2 separate regions of the Homo sapiens genome follow, and region 1 is linked to region 2. Evidence: promoter capture Hi-C in 16 types of primary human blood cells and fetal thymus (Javierre and others, 2016). All regions are on one chromosome and are shown on one strand. The core of a region is centred on a gene start or on the middle of the fragment in contact, and the rest is flanking DNA. Distances in the headings are between cores, read along the strand shown.

What was found. Contacts are between HindIII fragments. The CHiCAGO score rates a contact against its expected background, and 5 or more counts as called.
Region 1: a contact is called between a fragment that was not itself captured here and the fragment with the promoter of MARCKSL1 in region 2, in 1 of 17 cell types (total CD8 T cells). The highest score is 5.9, in total CD8 T cells.

The regions. Positions count from the first base shown.
Region 1 is chr1:32,036,760-32,039,459 of GRCh38, forward strand. It overlaps KHDRBS1 (KH RNA binding domain containing, signal transduction associated 1), which reads left to right. Exons shown (of 9, transcript NM_006559.3): 5 at 151-284; 6 at 1,076-1,277; 7 at 1,793-1,860. Among named protein-coding and RNA genes, the nearest start is that of KHDRBS1, 24 kb to the left of the region's middle. The HindIII fragment of the contact is 3,062 bases long and covers 1-2,700 here.
Region 2 is chr1:32,334,950-32,337,870 of GRCh38, forward strand. It overlaps MARCKSL1 (MARCKS like 1), which reads right to left and starts at 1,284. Exons shown (of 2, transcript NM_023009.7): 1 at 998-1,284; 2 at 1-148. The coding sequence starts at 1,084. LOC124903949 (a long non-coding RNA gene) reads left to right here and starts at 428. Exons shown (of 2, transcript XR_007065661.1): 1 at 428-555. RefSeq lists silencers at 106-545, 686-765, 896-1,045, 1,066-1,595, 2,529-2,657 and enhancers at 937-1,506, 1,776-1,865. The HindIII fragment of the contact is 20,076 bases long and covers 1-2,921 here.

The DNA of each region.
Region 1 (2,700 bases), core at 26-2,525, 300 kb before region 2:
GGTGCCATTTGACTTCAGAGAAGGAATGACCTGAGACCTCATCTGGGCTCTCAAGAGCTCTTCTTAGAATTCAAGTCTCCCGTGGACCAGATGATTTCTCAGTAGAAAGTGTAGATACCACACAATACTCCTTGTATCTTTCGTTCCCAGGATATGATGGATGATATCTGTCAGGAGCAATTTCTAGAGCTGTCCTACTTGAATGGAGTACCTGAACCCTCTCGTGGACGTGGGGTGCCAGTGAGAGGCCGGGGAGCTGCACCTCCTCCACCACCTGTTCCCAGGTAAAAATAATGGAGACACCCAGAAATAGGATGTGAATTTGACTACTAGTGTCATCTCTTTTAGTGGTGCTCTTATGTCTAGCTTAGGAAGGGTCTCAGGATTTGTATGTTGCATAAAGAACAGAATTCTACAACCATACTCTCACACCTGTAATCCCAGCACTTTAGGAGGCTAAGGCAGGCGGATCAACTGACATTTGGAGTTTGAGACCAGCCTGGCCAACATGGTGAAACCCTGTCTCTACTAAAAATACAAAAATTATCCAGGTGTGGTGGCATACACCACACTACTCAGGAGGCTGGGGCAAGAGAATTGCTTGAACCCAGGAGACGGAAGTTGCAGTGAGCCGAGATCATGCCACTGCACTTCAGCCTGGGAGATAGAGCAAGACTCCATTTCAAAAAAAAAAAAAAATAGAGTTCTAGATCTTGGGCACTTTGACCATAGCCAAGTGCTGCAGTCTAGCTGAAACTTTTGGTCTTCTAATTTTGGACAGTCTTAGCATTTGTTAATGGTCTGACTTTAAAATTCTACCTTTTGTGACTGACCTTTATAGAGTATTCAGACTCTCCAGACCTACCCAAGGCAGTGCAGTGATGAATTGGTCCTCTATAGGACCTGGGGGATCTTGCAGTGTGGGTCCTTTACCCTGTACATTCCTCTGTGCTTTAATAATAGCCTAGTTAAGGCTTCATAAAATCTGCCTAATTCCAGAATTTGTAAACAAATCAGAACATAAAAGTGGCCTGTTTATAAAAAGCTCCATTTAAGATAAACTTTCATTTTGTAGGGGCCGTGGTGTTGGACCACCTCGGGGGGCTTTGGTACGTGGTACACCAGTAAGGGGAGCCATCACCAGAGGTGCCACTGTGACTCGAGGCGTGCCACCCCCACCTACTGTGAGGGGTGCTCCAGCACCAAGAGCACGGACAGCGGGCATCCAGAGGATACCTTTGCCTCCACCTCCTGCACCAGAAACATATGAAGAATATGTAAGAAATTTGAACAATGTGCCATTTCCCAGTACCTAGAAGGCTGCTAAAGGAAGTTGAATGACAGGGCCTCGGTCCTTTATGTAGGTGTCATGGACTGCCTGTAAGATTTGCAATCTGCCCTCTTCTCTTGCAGTGAATGTTGAACTATTAGAAGATTTTTCCATTTTAGGCAGGGTTTTACTATACGCCTGTAGATTAAACAAGAAATAAAATGTACTTTAATGTAGTATTTTATAATGAATTTCTTACTACTAGTACTGATAATACTAAAGCTCGATTTTGTACTTTACTTCCTGCCCACACTTCTTCTGTGGCATATCATATTTGTTTGGGTTTTCTTTGTTTAGTAACCCTTTCTCTTTTGACTATTCTACAGTAGGCATTAACATTTTGGAGGGAAATGTCATGTCCTTTTAATTCAGAAGCCTACTTACTCCCATGGGATGTAATTACCTTTCCTACTCTCTATGATTTTGATCTTTTATTTCATTTTTTTGTTGTTGTTGTTCTAGGGATATGATGATACATACGCAGAACAAAGTTACGAAGGCTACGAAGGCTATTACAGCCAGAGTCAAGGGTGAGTCAGGCAGTATAAGCACTGTTTTTTGTCCTGAGGATGGATGGAGGGAGTTGGAGGAACAGAGAGATTTAGACAGTACAACCCTAAGGAGCAGAATGGTTCGCCTTTTGAGGGTATCTCCTCTGCAACCCCCACAGTCCTGACTGGTCTTGAACTCTTGAGCTCAAGCAGTCCTCCCACTTTAGCTCTCTCTAGTAGCTGGGGTTACAGGTGCGTGCCACCATGCAATGCTTTCCTCTGCGTTTGACATCTGTGAAGCACACACTTGGATTTGTAAATCTGGATAACTGTGAACCTTAAATTATAATTTAGAACCTGAGAGTAACAAATGAAAAATTTCCAAGCTGTGACTACATGGAAACAAGGAGAAATGCCTTTATGTTATTTTGATTTATTATTTTAAAATATCAAAACCACATTAAAGCTCCATAAAATTTTACAAGAAACTTGAATTCCATTACCATAACTTAGGTTCTTTTCTGCATTTCTCTTTAAGACCATTTCCTTGTGTGTCCATATATATAGCTTACCTGTGAATTGATTGAAAAAGAGTTCCAGAATTCTACAGCAGTGATAAAACAGTTCTTTTTTCCTTCTGGTGAGCCCTATGAATACATGTATATATATGCTATATTAAAAGGGTCAATTTAGGATTGTGCTTTTTCACTTTATATTCTGTGGTATCCATTTTTCTTTGCAATAGTTGTCAATTATTTTATAAGTACATAGTCTATACATATTTTGGAAATACTTTACGGTTTAGGGATGGGGCAGAATGAGTATTTTCCTGTATTAATACACTTAGTAAAATGACTGACTTATGGAAGTATTTGAGAG
Region 2 (2,921 bases), core at 34-2,533:
CCCCCTTGGCCTCAGCACCCTGGCTAGGGGGTGCTGGCTCGATGGCATCGCCAGTGGCCCCGGCTGCCTCATCTGTTCCGTTCACAGGGGGCGACTCCCCTTCACCCTTGGGGGATAAGTCTCCATTGCTTTTCACGTGGCCATTCTCCTGCAGGGCAGAGGGAATAGCAATGAGGGCAGGGGCTCCCCCTCCCCCAGCCCGCTTCTGATCCCTTCTAGAGGAAGGGGTCCTCGATTCGATTCTACTGCAACCCGAAAGTCTGGCTTCAGCCTCACCCACACCCAGGATCCCGTCAAACACCTCCCTCTCGCCCCTCACGGGCGCGCGGGGAGCGAGCGCGCAGAGGGCGCGACCGGCAGGAGGCGCTGGGGTCCCGTGGCCCCCACCCCCGTCCCCCGGGGCGCGCTCTCTATTCCGCGCGGAACCGCTCCGGATCTGCTGTGCGGATCCCGGGCAGGCGGGCGAGCCGCTCTAGGCGACATTGGGCGGGAAGCCGCCCCGGGGCGCTGTCTCTCTGCACCTGGACGGCCTATTTTCCCAGCCTCCCGCTTTGTGTAAGTGGCCCCCACCCACCCCAGGCTCTCCCGCATCTCGGCTCCCCCTTAAAAAAAAAAAGACCGTGGGCCACCGAGGTCGGGTCGGCGGGTGGAGTGCGCTCCCCGCCGGGCCCCAGCTCCGCGGCCCCTGGGCGCCCCCTTGGCGTGGCCCAGCAGCGCCTTTGTTCCCCGCGCGGCACTCGGGGCGGCCGGGGGGCAGCGCCGGGGACCGGGGCCGCGAACAAAGAAGGCGGCAGGGCCCGGCCGGCGCCCCCTCCCCGCCCCTCCCCTCGCTTCGCCCGCGGGGGCTGCGGCGCCGAGAACAAAGGGACCGGGCGGGGGAGGGGGCGCCGCGTGTCCCGGGCCGGACAAAGCGCGCGGCCCCGGCCCCGGCCCCGGGCCCTAGAAGGGGCGAGGTGCGAGAGGAGGGGCTGGGGCCGGCCGGGCCAAGCGTACCCACCTGGCCGTTGGCCTTCGCGGGGGAAGCGCCTGCTGCCTCCTCGGCGGTCACGTCGCCCCGGGGAGCCTTGGAGCTCTGGCTGCCCATGATGGGGGTCTGCTGGGGGGCGCTTGGAGCCGCCCCGGGCTCGCGCCGCAGGGGATAGTACGGCGGGGTCGGCCCGGCCGGCGGAGGGGTGGGGCTGGCGCCCGAGGGGGAGGGGTGCCGGGGGAAGCCGAGCTGCACCTCCGCTCCGCGGCCGACCCGCTAGCTGCGCCCGCCGCCGCTCCGCTCCGCGCCAGAATGCCGCCCGCCGCCCGCCGAGCTGCCTATATATAAGCGCCCGGAGCTCGGGGCGGGGCCGGACATTTAAATGCGCGCCCAATCGAGGGGCGGAGGCGGGGTTGGCTCGCAGGCCCCACTTGCGCAGCAGGCGACGCTGGCGGTCGGGTACCCCCCACCCCACCCGAATCCCAGGGGCAGGTAGAGTCCGGTGTGGGCAGGAGCGAGGCCAGTCCTCCCGCGAGCTGGGCGGGGCGGGGCGGGGGGCCTGGAGGAAGGAGACGGGCAGTCATTCCATCCTCTCCGCTCCACCTCTCCGGTGGGCGCCCCCGCAGCCTGGAGCGGCCCCCAACGCCTTGGTCCTGCAGCCGCTGGCAGTCTCCCGCTTGAACCCTTCGAAGGGCTCACACGACCAGGCTCGTCAGATGGCTGGTCCTGAATTATACTCTAGAAATGTGGTCATAGAAGCTGCAGGGCCCCTGCGCTGGGCTCGGCACCCGCTCCGGCCTGGAGAGCGGTCAGAGGTCCCACCCACGTCCCTGCCTGCCTGCCATGGCCAGCCGGGGAGCGGAGGGCTCTGCCTTGCCTCGGGGTCACTCTGGTCGGACTAGTGAGGCCTTTCCCTCATTCCTCCTTTCAGTCCCTTGGTGGCCAGTCATTCTGAGTGGGGACAGACAGATTCGCCTTGAGCCCCTCCTGCCCTCAGCCTGGACCCACTGCAAAGTCCCACGTGGGGGACTTTGTGACCTTGAAGGGCATCTCCATCCCCATTGAAAGGCCAAGGCTCAGAGGCATTGACAACCTGTCTGACTTGGCTCTGGTCCTTCCTCTTTACCTCCACACACAACTCTGCTCCCCTACATCAGGGTGCCCCAGGCCGGCAGAGGAACCCCAGCTGGGGACTCAACAAACCTCAAAACACCCCAGTTTCTGAAGGGGAGGGATAGGATGCTACCAAGGGTCCCTTCAAGGGACAGCCCCTTGAGGACAGCCCTCAAAGCTGCCCAGCCCAGCTTCCCACCCTGCCTGAGAGCAAGGGAGCCCGGAGGTGCTCCGGGCTGGAGACTCCCTAGCTTTGGTCCTCTGCCACCTCTCCTTCTGCTGGCCTGGATAGGCTGGTGGGAACCCCAGAATCCTGGCCGGCCCCGGATGTCTGTGTCCGGCTGCCAGCCCTCAGCCCCCAGGAGGAAAGGGATGGGGGCTGGAAGGAAGCAAAGTGTTGCAAATGCAAGGCTGTGTCCCAGCCAGCTCAGCAAGTCCCTCCCCTCCCTCCTACGGTGAAGCCTCCTGGGAGGCCTGAGGCTGTGAAGTGTGGAGACACCCCAGGGCCTGAGAAATTGGGAACTCCCCAGAGATCTGACCACAGAGGGGCGGGGAGGGCTGAGGTGGCTTCTGCATTCTGCACTCACTCCTGTATCCTCCATCCCCACCCCCACCCTGAGACTACAGAATACCCTCAGCTATCTCAGCTTCACTTGCCCCCCACCCCCGCCCCATTTCACAGACTGGGACCCTGAGGTTCAGGAAGAGAAAGTGACATGCCCAAGGGCACACAGCAGCTACCAGTAGCTGAGGGTGAGAAAAGGCTTGGAGAGGTTTGATAACATGGGCCAAGGGCTGTAAGGAATCCCCTGGCAGAATTTTCTGTTGAGATCTGGGGCTG